Regions from separate parts of the Homo sapiens genome. Here regions 2 and 3 are each linked to region 1. The links are contacts of gene promoters, found by promoter capture Hi-C in human tissues and cell types (Jung and others, 2019). All regions are on one chromosome and are shown on one strand. Each heading gives the region's core, a stretch centred on a gene start or on the middle of the fragment in contact. The rest is flanking DNA. Distances are from core to core; before and after follow the strand shown. Region 1 holds the start of KLHL20 (kelch like family member 20). Region 2 has its middle 140 kb from the start of FASLG. Region 3 has its middle 92 kb from the start of FASLG.

Evidence for each region. The method cuts DNA at HindIII sites, captures the fragments that hold promoters and counts their contacts. A contact is called where the count stands out against the background at its distance.
Region 2: a fragment that was not itself captured here is called in contact with the fragment with the promoter of KLHL20 in region 1 in 1 of the 25 tissues and cell types used here (mesendoderm cells).
Region 3: a fragment that was not itself captured here is called in contact with the fragment with the promoter of KLHL20 in region 1 in 1 of the 25 tissues and cell types used here (aorta).

Annotation. Positions count from the first base shown.
Region 1 is chr1:173,713,337-173,717,610 of GRCh38, reverse strand. It overlaps KLHL20 (kelch like family member 20), which reads right to left and starts at 2,630. Exons shown (of 12, transcript NM_014458.4): 1 at 2,533-2,630; 2 at 1,545-1,608. The coding sequence starts at 1,567. It also overlaps a transcript of ANKRD45 not described here. RefSeq lists enhancers at 2,087-2,456, 2,537-2,726. The HindIII fragment of the contact is 13,268 bases long and covers 1-4,274 here.
Region 2 is chr1:172,801,210-172,805,496 of GRCh38, reverse strand. No RefSeq gene overlaps it. Among named protein-coding and RNA genes, the nearest start is that of FASLG, 140 kb to the right of the region's middle. The HindIII fragment of the contact is 8,961 bases long and covers 1-4,287 here.
Region 3 is chr1:172,748,341-172,753,045 of GRCh38, reverse strand. It overlaps the pseudogene SLC25A38P1. Among named protein-coding and RNA genes, the nearest start is that of FASLG, 92 kb to the right of the region's middle. The HindIII fragment of the contact is 6,733 bases long and covers 1-4,705 here.

The DNA of each region.
Region 1 (4,274 bases), core at 1,381-3,880:
AAGCTTCTTTAATAGCAACTGAGTATAAACCCAGCATTACAGAGACTGCCTTCTGGGTTAAATCAGCAAAAATGACAGCCCAATAAGAAAAGGATAGGGAAGTGTGACCATGATTGAATGTAGGAAGCAGGTGAAAGTAAGACCAGAGACCAATGTGAGTAGGCTAGGCTCTGGCCAAGTGACAGTGATGAAGAAAGAGCCGTAGCTTAACGATTAACAGCACTAGAATTATCCAGCATGATTCTGAATAGCTGACAGTATTATGTAATAAAGCAAGAAAAAAGGAGCAGGTATGAGTGATTAAGCAAATATTTTATATAGACTACTGATAAACCAAAAACATTCCCACACTCTGCTATTCTTTTAAAAAATAATAAGCTCTTATTTTAGCAATTATATAAGATATGACATTTTATGGTAGCTGGAGATGAGACACAATCAGTGGGTTTTGCAATAATGTTAGAAGTAAAGGGATGAAGTATTTAATATTATGTTGTTAATTTTTTCATGTACATTGTGGTAAAATATTATTCCTACTACAGAGTAAAATATAAATAAGATAATGGTATTTTTCATCTTGATAACATCTTTTCATCTGGAGATCTTAAAGCATTTGCAAATGTTCATTAATCCCCAATATCCTGATCAGATACACTAAAGAAGTAAACTGGGGTACAGAGAAGGTGAACAGCTCAAGGTCAATTGATAAACCAATAACAGATTTGGATAAAGATATACATTCTGGTTCTTGCTCCAAGTTCTGAGTTATAAGTCATATTCCCATTATAAAATGTTTCTTCTCTTAAAAGAACTGCAGAAGTTGTTTATCTTTGATGTTAAATAACAAATGATTAAATAGAGTTCAATAAATAGAAAACAAATGTAAAAACCAAAGAAATAGAACTGGGATGATTTTGTATCATAAAGATTCTAGTCTCATTTGTTAGAACAAAATGAGAAAAAACATTATTAAATTCTAGGGTTGGGAGGGCCTATTTATTGTCTATATTTTCCCAGACATTGTTCTATTTTTCTATGGACTAAGTTATTATGTCTAATACCTATTTTAGTCCTTATACAATCTTCCCTACAATGCAGCTATTTTAATTAACAGAACAAATGTATGATTGAACATCAAGGAAATAACCAAAACCATAATTAGGCATGCAGTACAGTATATTATAAATAATTATGATTCTTACATGGGAACAGAATCCTCTACATTTTATAGGGAACTGAAGATTATAATAAATCCATATAGTATCATAATGAACTTAATGATTATTTACTGTAAAAAACATGAAAAAAGGAAAATTTAAGTGTTTAGCACTACATACAATCCACAGCACTTTTCAGAAACAACTTCTGTATTTTATTCTATTAAAAAGCTATTAATTCTTAATATTACTTTTGATTTATTGTAGAACAAGACTCATTAGTTCCAAGCAGAATTTAGTAAGATTGAAACTCTTTTTTAAAAATTTAAATTATTACATGCTGAATTTTAATCAGTGAAACCAAAGGTTTTCTTCCTAAATGCCTACCTGCGCATTGGCTTTCCTTCCATGCACCATGAAAAGTACCCTTCACCACACTCTAAAGCCGAACCTAAGACAACAGAAAAGCAGGAACTTAATAAAAGCTATTTCTGATCTTTACAGTAACAATCTTTATATAATCATTTCACTCATTTCGTCAGTTATCAAGAGTTTCATATCCTATTATACCACAGGCCTTCTGCAGATGCACAATAACTTAATCTAGTACATTTAAGATTACCATCCTTACTCTGCATGCTAAAACGATTAAAGTAAAGGTGAGGGAAAGTATGCTAAATAGTCCCGACTGTTAGGTCAGTCTTGTTTCTCTTCAAAAAGTGCTTGGAGATATTTAACTGTGATCTCGACATCAAGTATATTTACAGAACAAGCACCAGATACCCACAGCAGTACTAACCTGATAGATCACATAGGGTACACGAGGCTTTAATAACGAATCTGAAGATTGTTAACTTGTCCCGAAGTGACAGGAGGAGGAGGCGTCTGCATTTGCCTTTACAAACAACTCCGCTTCCGACAGTCCAGGGAGCTTGAACAGGGCAGGGAAAGTATGGCTCCAGACTAACACTCTTTACAAGCATTTCCTTCAGTCCCCGATACAATGTTCACTACCCACGTAGCAGGATTTCGCCAGGTCCCGAGGGTTAAATGGGGGCGCACGTACTTTCTTCCTTCCCTGAATTCCAAACACTGTCTGGGGAAGCTGTCCAGGATGCGAAACCCCAGCACCACCAGGCAGGACAAAGCCCGGGGCCTCCTCTGGCTCCCGAGATAGGCTGTCAGCCAGCGAGAGCGCACTCTGGCGCTCCGCGAGGCCCGGCCCCAGCGCCCCAACAGTCTCTTCTCGGCGCCGACTGACAGGCGACCGACCTGACCCCATGGGGCAGCTCAGCAACTTGGGACCACATATCTGCGAAGCGAGCCCTGGGGCGCTGTCCGCTGTCCCCTGCTCTAAGGTGACTGGCTCACTTACCGGCTCTGACACTTTCTTCTCTGCAGCAGCCTCCTCCGTCTACTCCGCCCTCCACTCCTCTCTGCCTCCTCCTCCACCGCCGCTAACGCAGGCAGGATGCCGCTCGTAGAGCTATTTCCTTTCCCTTCACCGGCCCATATCCAGAAGCAGGAAGTAGTCCTATTCTTAAATCGTTCCCGCAGGAACCCACATAATCCGCCAAGGGGTTCCGGTGCGGCTCCGGAAGTAGTCGTGCCCTTTGCTGGGGCATTCAGGTAACCTCAGAGGTTGTTTATCCTCGTGGGGGTTCCTTGTATCCCAAGAGTAACCATTTTTAGAATTCACTGCGGAACTGGCAGTATTTGAATACTGAAGCCTCCTCTTTTCTTCTTTGTTTTCGCCAGCAAAGGCAGTAAAGGGTAGTCACAGAAAGCTAAGAATTTGTATTTCTTTTTAGTTGGTGGGTCTCCTTTTGGCACAATGTTCCTAATTGTGGATTGAATTATTGCATGCACACATGGGTTGGCATGTATCTGTCAGGCCTCTACTATGTGCAAGGTGCAGAAGTTAGATAGACAGACCAGAGATAGACCTTATCCTCCAGATTTCCCACGGTCAAACTTTCAGGACACCAGGATTTTATCCAGGCTCTAAGGCTGTGTTAGTCTGCCCTTTCTACTTAGTATTCACCACCAGACACTTCACCAAACACATCTTCTGTGGATTCACTTTAATGTTAAGGAGGGAAGAGTATATTTTCTTAAAAAAATTTTTTTTCAGTAGCAAGCAGAGCCAAAAAAGTATATTTTTAAAATTATCTTTTCCTCCAGATTTTCCCATAGCACACAGCCACCTGATTTTTACCGTATATTAATATTTAGAAAACAAGTGATACAAGTGTAAGGTGGGGATTACAATTTCAGGAATATCAGAGAAAGACTGTTGCTGATTTCCTGGTAAGTATACTAGGCTAAGTATTAACCAGATTTTCTTTAGCTGTTCTTTATGTAGAATCTACACAGGTGTGTCCAGTTGTTTCTGAGGGGAAAGGATACCTCTTGTTAATTAGCTTGTAGTGGAAAATACATGGCCTTTAGATCCAGATATAGTGGCCCAGTGGATTCTTCTTGCCTGCTGCCCAGATACAGATGATTTATCAAGGTATAGGGATTGCAATGGAGAAAGAGTTTTACACAACATCGAGTGGAAAAATGGAAGAAGTTTTATTATTACTCAAATCAGTTATATTATTACTCAAATCGGCCTCCTGGAGCATTTGGGGGCTAGGTTTCTTTTCAAAGGTAGTCTGGGGAAAGGGGTAGGGGTGGCTAGGCAATGGGTGCTTGCTGCTGACTGGTGCAGTCATAGGGGTATGGGAGATGGTCCTCCTGCCTACTGAGTTGTTTCTGGGTGGAGCCACAGGAACAGTTGGTGGGTCCAGGTGGAGCCATCAGTAGTCAAACATGCAAAAAACTTAAAAATATACCCAAAAAGGCCAATCCTAGATTCTACAATAGTGATGTTATCTGTAGGAGTAATTGGGGAAGTTGCATATCTTGTGACCTCTGGAATAATGGCTGGCAATCACTTATGTCTACACTTAACAGAATTCAGGCTCATCTATCCCCGTTGTCTGGTGGTCTCTCATTAGCTTTACAAAGGCAATTGAGTTTTGGGGAAGGACTGTAATTATTTAAACTATTAAACTAAATGTCTCCCAAAGTTATCTTGGCTTAAGCCCAGGAATAATTAAGGACAGACTG
Region 2 (4,287 bases), core at 148-2,647, 910 kb after region 1:
AGAGTCTCACACTGTCACCAGGCTGGAGTGCAATAGTGTGATCTTGGCTCGCTGCAACGTCTGCCTCCTAGGTTCAAGCAATTCTCCTGCCTGAGCCTCCCGAGTAGCTGGGACTACAGGTGCATGCCAACATGCACAGCTAATTTTGTATTTTTAGTAGATATAAGGCTTCACCACATTGACCAAGCTGGTCTCAAACTCCTGACCTCAGCTAATCTGCCTGCTTCAACCTCCCAAAGTGCTGGGATTACAGATGTGAGCCACCGTGCCCAGCTGGTCTTGATTATAAATTATAAAATCTGTTTCTTTAACAGCTACCCTCTAAACTGCAGACAGTTTCTATTTTTGACACATTTTTTTCTGAAATCTATTTAATTTTTCCAGTTCAGGTTTAACTAAGAAATGATAGTTTCATGGAATGGTAATTTCATTTCTCAAGGTAGTTTTCCCCTTGAAATTTCTCAAATTCATATTTCAGAGGCTCACCTCTTGCTGTATCTTGCTGCATGTATTTTGCAGTTATGCATAATTGCCTTCAGCTCTCCTTCCTCCCCTTAAAAAGTCGTATATTTTGGCCAGGCATGGTGGCTCACACCTGTAATCCCAGCACTTTGGGAGGCCAAGGCGGGTGGATCACCTGAGGTCAGGAGTTCAAGAACAGCCTGGCCAACATGGTGAAATTCCGTATCTACTAAATACAAACAATTAGCCGGGCATGGTGGTGCATGCCTGTAATCCCAGCTACTCGGGAGGTGGAGGCAGGAGAATTCCATGAACCGGGGAGGCAGAGGTTGCAGTGAGCTAAGATCAGGCCACTGCACTCCAGCCTAAGTGACAGAGCCAGACTCCATCTCAAAAAGAAAAAAAAGGTGTATATTTTTGTTTGGCTTGGATAATAACTCTCCTTCAACCTTTATGCCAGTTCCTGTGACTTTTTTCTCCTCTTCTAACTCTGCTATTCTAACCTGATGCTGAAATGTTTATCTTGAAGTCCTAGAAAAGCAATGCTTTCCTCCAGTATAACTTGATTCTGTACTCTTGACTTTTCTTGCTATGTTGGAATTGTCCAACGTAATTGTGTACAGAATTGGTCCCTTCCAGTGGGTTCTTGGTCTCGCTAACTTCAAGAGTGAAGCTGTGGACCCTCGCAGTGAGTGTTACAGTTCTTAAAGATGGTGTGTCTGGAGTTTGTTCCTTCAGATGTTCAGATGTGTCTGGAGTTTCCTCCTTTCAGTGGGTTCGTGGTCTCACTTGACTTCAGGAGTGAAGCTGCAGACCTTCACAGTGAGTGTTATAGCTCTTAAAGGTGGTGGTCCAGAGTTGTTTGTTCCTCCCGGTGGGTTTGTGGTCTTGCTGACTTTAGGAGTGAAGCTGCAGACCTTCACAGTGAGTGTTACAGCTCATAAAGGTAGTGCAGACCCAAAGAGTGAGCAGCAGCAAGATTTATTGTGAAGAGTGAAAGAACAATGCTTCCACAGTGTGGAAGGGGACCTGAGCAGGTTGCTGCTGCTGGCTTGAGAGGCCAGCTTTTACTCCCTTATTTGGCCCTGCCCACATCCTGCTGATTGGTCCATTTTACAGAGTGCTGATTGGCCCATTTTTACAGAGTGCTGATTGGTGCATTTACAAACCTTTAGCTAGACACAGAGCACTGATTGGTGCATTTTTACAGAGTGCTAATTGGTGCGTTTACAAACCTTTAGATAGACACAGAGTGCTGATTGGTGCATTTTTTACAGAGTGCTGATGGGTGCATTTACAATCCTTTAGCTAGACAGAAAAGTTTTCCAAGTCCCCACCCGACCCAGAAGCCCAGCTGGCTTCACCTCTCAATCCCCCCTCTAAACAGGACACCCCAACTGCTGTTGGGAATTGGGCGATGACTACTGTAGCTACTTCCTGCTGGATAGGGGCGAAGAAGGGGCCCTACAATTGTAGTGTCCTCCAGAGGGGAACTCTTTAGGCCAGTGAAAGGGCCAGCAGGTCAGTCCAGGGGTCCTTGGTAGAAGTTGTTAGTTGAGCTCATTTGGGGTTCCATTTGTAAGACCATCTGTAGCTTGATGGCCTTGATCCTAGAGGAAACAAATTTGACAAGGAAGTTAAAAATACAGGTCCTGAAGGTGAGTAATAGTAAGATGGCTGTCACGGGACCTAGGAAGGGAAGAAGCCATGTTGCCCAACTCCAGAGGTTGGTATAAGAGTTTGAAAGGCGTTGTCTGATTTCAGAAGTCTTTTCCTGTAAACACCGGGTGGCATCTCTTACTATCCATGACTGGTTAGTGTAAAAACAACACTCTCTTCCCCTAAGAAGGCACAGAGTCCTCCTTTCTCAGCAGTGAGGCGGTCTAAGCCTTGGTGGTTTTGGAGAGTCACTGCTGCCAAAGAGTCTATTTGGGATCATAGAGTAAGGATAGATTCCATTGTTTCTTGCAAACTGTCTGAGAAATCCTCTGAGAGTGTGTGGTAGTAAGATAATGAAGTAGATAAACAAGCTATTCCAGTTCCTGTAGCAGTGGCCATTCCTAAAACCATGTAAGTGGGGGTATTAGTTGTATGGCTCTGTGCTGATGGACTTGAGCTTTCAGGGGCACTGATAAGGTCTGATTTCCATAAGATTAGAAGTTAGGATAATACATGTTACACTGTTAACTCTTTTAGCAAACTTTACTTTTGTTGAAAACCTTGTAAGTTTGGGATTTCAATTATTTTTTGCTATTAATAAGACCTCATTCAGTCCATATTAACTTAGAATTGATATAGATGGCTCCTTCCTGATTCTGTAAGTACTTTAAAGTTTGGCTGAGTGCAAACAGCTTGCAGGTTTGAGCAGACCAATTATTAGGCAATTTTCCTAACTCTGATTCTACAAGAGTTTCCTTATCACTTACTGAATACCCATTGTGTCTTTTTTCCTTAATTGCCTGGGAGGAGCCATCTATCATCCTGTCCTGAAGGGAGTTCCTCCTAGATCTGGTTGGACCTTTGTATGGTAATTAATTAAGATTTAGATCCCCTGTTAGGAAACCTGCTGGGTTAAGGATTTTTGATAGGAAGGCTATGGGTTGTCAGTGGCCTCAGTGCTTTCAGGCTATGCCCTTGTTTACACTGACAACAAGGTGGTATTGGAGTGCTATAGGGATATGGAGAAGACCTTAAATTATCAATTATAGGTTTTAAATTTACCCTGGTTTTTAAAGGAATACAATACACTGTTTTTTCTTTACTACTTCCAACTCTCCTTCTTTCTCTTTGACTTCTTCTTTGTCTGTCTGTCTCTCTCTGACTCCCTCTTTGTCTCTTCCTCTCTTTTCTTCTTTGACTTTGTCTGTCTCTTCCTCTCTCTCTCTGACTCCTTTGTCTGTGTCTTTTCCTCTCTCTGTCTCCTTCTCTTTGTCTCTCTGTTTCTTCCTCTCTCTCTTTCTGTCTCTTTCTCTATTTCCTTTCTGCTGCTTCTGCCAGCTGCTTATGCTGCCGTTCTCCCCTCTCCTTCCCTTTTTGATGGCTTCATCTGTGTAAGACTGCCACCTCCTTTGGTTTTTGTACTGTGTGCAATAACTCCATGGTTTCCTTGTAATATTTAATGGGGGTTCCCCTAGAGGTTAGGAACTCCCTTTCTTTCCATATTGCAGCATGGGTATGTAGGATTAGATAAACATACTTACTATCTGTAGCAAAGTCTCCCAATTACAACTGAGGAGGTGGGAGAAATACCTGGTTACAGGCCATCCCAGGATTCCTCGGATGGTAACGGACCTTGAGGACAGTCGTCTGGGACAGGAGATTAACACTGAGAAGGCCGTGCCAGTGTCCAGGAGGAAGTCTCAATTTCCTGGCCTCAATGGTTAAATGTACCCGGGGCTCAGTGAGGGTGACGACATGAGCTGGCGCTTGCCCCAGGCACCCTCAGTCCTGTTGTTGGATCATCTGGTTGGGGGCTTCTGGGTCAGAGAACCATTGCACTCTGGGGCAGTGCGCCTTCCAGTGACTGCCTCAGCATAGCAGACATTGATGAGGGGATGGCTTGTTTCTTGTTGGACAATCTTTTTTAAAGTGTCCTTGTAAACCACACTGATAACAAGCCCTACCCAGTGACTGGCCTGCTCCATTTTCTGTCCTGTCTGAACCACCAAGGTTTGTTTGTCTGAGGACCATGCCTAAGGCTGCGGCCTTTCTCTGATCTTGCTTTTCCTTTTTGGCCTGTTCCTCTTGGCCCCTATTATAGAACACCGAGATTGCCAGGTTTAATAATGCCTCCAGAGTTTGTTCAGGGCCTAGGGCTCACATTTG
Region 3 (4,705 bases), core at 708-3,207, 960 kb after region 1:
AAGCTTAGGCTCAGCTTTCCAAGTTAGAACTGATGGCTAGTGCTCTTCCTGGGGCGGGGGGAAATGAATTCATAGTGAATAAATAGCTGGTTTTAGAAAAACTGAAAAAAAAATTTTGAAAAGGAGACTATAGAGGCACAATCTGCGAAAGTTACTTTACTATAAATATGGATTTGCGCCTGCCCTTTTTTTTTTTTGACGGAGTCTCGCTCTGTCCCCCAGGCTGGAGTGCAGTGGCATGATCTCAGCTCACTGCAAGCTCTGCCTTCCCGGTTCACGCCATTCTCCTGTCTCAGCCTTCCGAGTAGCTGGGACTACAGGCGCCGGCCACCACACCTGGCTAATTTTTTTTTTTGTATTTTTAGTAGAGACAGAGTTTCACCATGTTAGCCAGGATGGTCTCGATCTCCTGACCTCATGATCCACCCACCTCAGCCTCCCGAAGTGCTGGGATTACAGGCATGAGCCACCGCACCTGGCCGTGCCTGCCCTTTTAAAAGACAATTGGATAGAAGTTCGGAAACGTAGAATTCTAATTCTGCTGTTGACAATTAATAGATAGATGACTTTAACAAGTCATTTTTCATTTTCTGTGCCTCAGTTTCCTTGTCTCTTCAAGACGTATAACAATCCCTGATACACCTCGGAGTTGTGGTAATTCCAAACAGTTATGTGATCAAATTCTCAGCAGTTTAAACTCCTCAGAATCCTCTAACAGCGGCTCTTTGTGTCTAGACAATGAGAAAAGAAATGTTTGTGAAATAAGTGGAATGGAACAGGAAGAATGAATTTTCTGGCTTAATTTTCTGATTTCAAAGAAACTTATTCTTTCAGGAGGATGTTTTGATCAATAAGATGAAAAGTATTCAGTAACATCCAATAGCTTTTCAAAGCTCATGTCATTGTGAGATCTTTTTGTTGTTGTTACTGATTTTATTGACCATATAGTTTAAAGAGATTTTCCTTATAATACATTTTGATATTTCACATTGTATTTCTTTACTTTCCATATTTCGTAATGAGATATAGATGGCAGGAATGAGGTAAATAGAAGAAATATCCCATCTGATAAATCACTTTCAGTCCTCATTTTCTCTCAACTATTAAATGAAGTCAATAAATTGTGAAACAGGGCATGAGAGTTAAAGCATCACAGCTGCAGATCTAAGAATCCAAGTACCAGACATGTGGGATATCAAAGGGACAAACAACACTTTAATTCAACAAGAAGTTCTTCAATAATGTTAGCATAATAACTTTTCTTGAATATTTACCAAGTACAAATTGCTCAATTCAAATTTAACCTGATTGTAAAACAAGAAATTATAGTCAGCTGGAAGGCTGACTAGCTGAACATGAACCAATGGATGACAGAAAGAAACTCTCCAATAAAGCAATTAAAATGACAGAGAGATGAGAAAATAATTGTGACTTTCTGGAAAGGCGTGAATTTTCTTTCCTCCGGGAAGGTTAGGTAGACAATTGCTATCGTAAAATCCAAGTTCTTGCAGAAGACAATATTAAAGAAATGGCTGTCCATGTAGTCCAGAAGAGCAGCCAGGTCCTGTGGTAGAACCCTATGGGTGATTGCTCCACAGAATTTCGCTAGTGTGGTTGGGAAGAGGAATAAAGTGTATGGCTGTAGAATGAGGTGAGTGGGTTTTTCTGCACAAAGATAACCCAAGAATCATCTTTGTGATTGGTAATCTGCACCGTGTTTGGGATCTCTTGCCCCAATTTTCAGATATTTGCATAAGTGCTCGGAAGAAGAAATATGTCACTTACTAATAGTAAAAGGACACACAGCACTTATATAAATAGAGATAACATGAGTGCAAAAGTGAATAAAGCAAAAATTTCCCCTTCAAGAAGTTCACAGTCTAAAATTGGGGCTCTTAACCTGTAGCCTATAAATAAAATTCAAAGAAATCCATTAAAATGAGTAGAAAAAAATATATGACTTTATTTTCACTAACTGCAAACTGAAACTTGGAATATTCTTTAATTATGAATGTAGGCATTAAACTAACCACAGCTGTATAAGCAGTAATTGTGACCTTGTCACTGGTTGAAATTACAGATATCGTAATATTTCTAACACTCATTGCAGATATTGTAAGCTACAGAGCTTGTGGATAACCAAGATGTATTTATGCTCATCACTACTGAAGTTACGTTAATAATTAGACCCACCAGTTAATGTTATTTAATGCTTTAATAAGGAAGCACATATATTGCAATAGCATATATTTGGGATTTTTTACTATTTTGATAACCATATTTCAGTAGAATTGGTTTCCTTGGTAATCCCATGCACTTTGCTTTATACATTTTAAAATATTATTCTGAGAAAAGGTTCATAGGCTTCACCCTATGGCCAAGGGGATTTACATAACAGAAGATTAAGAAACCCCATTCTCCAGAAAACTAAATGCTGCATAATCTCACTTATAAATAGGAGCTAAATGATGAGAACACACAGACACATCGAGTGGAACAACACACACTGGGGCCTATCGGAGAGTAGAGGTTTGGACAAGGGAGAGGATCAGGAAAAATAACTAAAGGGTACTAGGCTTAATACTTGGGTGATGAAATAATCTATACAACAAACTCCCATGACACAAGTTTACCTATATAATGAACCTTCACATGTACCCCTGAACTTAAAAGTTTAAAAAATATATTGTATATATGCATAGACATGTCCTTAAAATATTTTTTTAAAGAACCTTCATTCTCTTCTCTGAGAATCAGACAAGTACACAGCTCTTGCACCAGCCTGACGGAAGTGTGGTGACTGTCTTTTGATTGAAGTCTTGTCTTCTAGATTTCTAGTTGCTTCTCTGAGCTACTCTAGAAACTTTTTTTTTTTAAAGTAAAGCACTTTAATTGCAGGGAAAAAAAAAATGCCAGAATTTAGAGGTGAAACAATACAGGGGCCAAGACCAAAAAATTTTATTTGGACATTCAGAGGCTAGAAAGCCACTGTCCCGTTCCCCAGAGCCTCTGAGAAGTTGACTGAGAACCAATTAAAGAATGGCATCTATTCCTCCTCATCCTACCATCACCTCAGTCAGTCTGTGACCTGGTAACAGTGACTCCTCTCCTCACATCCAGTCCTCCCTGGCTGGAGCTCCTCAGGCCCGGCAGGCAGCTTACAGCTTCTCTGGCTTTGTGATTCCTTGCCCAAGAACGTACCCAAGGAGACCCTGTGGTGTAGGTGTGGGCCAGAAGCGCAGCCACCTGACAGAGCTCTCCTGGGAAAATGCCTTTCCAAGTAGCCTCTCAGGGTATGCAAAACTCTCTCCTAACACCCCAGTGTGTTCTATGTATTGGTGACTCCTCTTTTGGAGATTGTGAAGGCTCAAATCAGGTCCATATATTTTTCTCCTTAAAGGGATTACCGAAGGCAAAGGCAACACAATTTCTGCCTGGTTTTCCAGGTAGGACTTCATCTTACTGCAGAATAGTAAGCAGCAGCAGCCCTTGGCAGAAACCAAGCAGGGCAATAGATTTCACCCTTTCCCAGTCCTCTCTTGGTCAGGACTTCAGGCCCATCTTGGCCATCATCTCTTCATACACCATCTACGCCATTGCTGCCATTAGAGTTCTGCAGAGGGCTCGGGGGATGCCACCTTGGAAGAAGCCACGTAGTCCATAGTCTTTGAAAGTAAGTGTCACTGCTTGGCCAATCCATTGAAACTTCAGTGGGTAAAGCTGCATATGAGTTTTGATAACATCCGCAGGTTGAGTTACCAGTGAGGCGAGAATACCAGCAAATATCCCACAGCTGAAATTTGTAATAGGAATAAAGGTTGCATCCACCTGGTCATGGGGCACTATGTTTTTGGTCTGGTTGTAAAACATCAGGTAGTTTCCTGAAAAGGGCATATCTCGAAGGAGAGTTGCTGTCAGGCCACTGAAGAGGCCCCGGTGCCCCTCACTGCGATAGATGCTCCTCACGGCAGCGTAGATACTCTCATAGCCATATTTCCCACTCTCATAGCACATCTTGATTACAGTGATGGGTAACATACAGACCCCTGCAACAGAGAGAGAGCCCACCCCCAGCATGATTGACTCCAGGGCGGTTGGGGGATGGCCTCGCAAGAAATACCGCTTCAAAGACTAGAGAGTGCCAAAGTAGATTCCAACGCCAGGGACACATCTCACAACGGAAGGGGACATCCCTTTCCAAAGGCCTAAAAGACTCTCCGTGTGAACCACCTTCAAGAGTACAGCCAACATCCCAACACGTCTAGACCCATGATCTGAGGGCTGGAGGGTTTGCAGGCGTGTTTTAAGGAGATCCAGAGGTTGGAAAAGGAGGGTAGAGCAGGTTCCACTGATGGAGCCACACAGGAAAGCCTTGATCACCAGATGTAACTGGTGGTGCCTCATGTTTTCTTCATACCATAAGCGTTTCCACTGTGTCTCTGACATCTTGGGGTTGCAGCAGTGACGAATGTGAGTTCTGAATCATTGGAGATGAGGCCCGCGAGTGCTCTGGGCCCAGGGTGCCGTCGACGGGTGCTTGGGCCCAGCCCTGGAGGCCTCGAAGAAGGTGAGGGGATGGCTTACTTTAAGCCAAGGGCTCTCTGACCTCTGCGCCTGTAAGCATGCAGCCGCCCGGGTTCAGATCCTGCTAACACAGGGGCTGCAGGCGCAGAACAATTCCGCCACAGGAATTACGCGCCGCTCT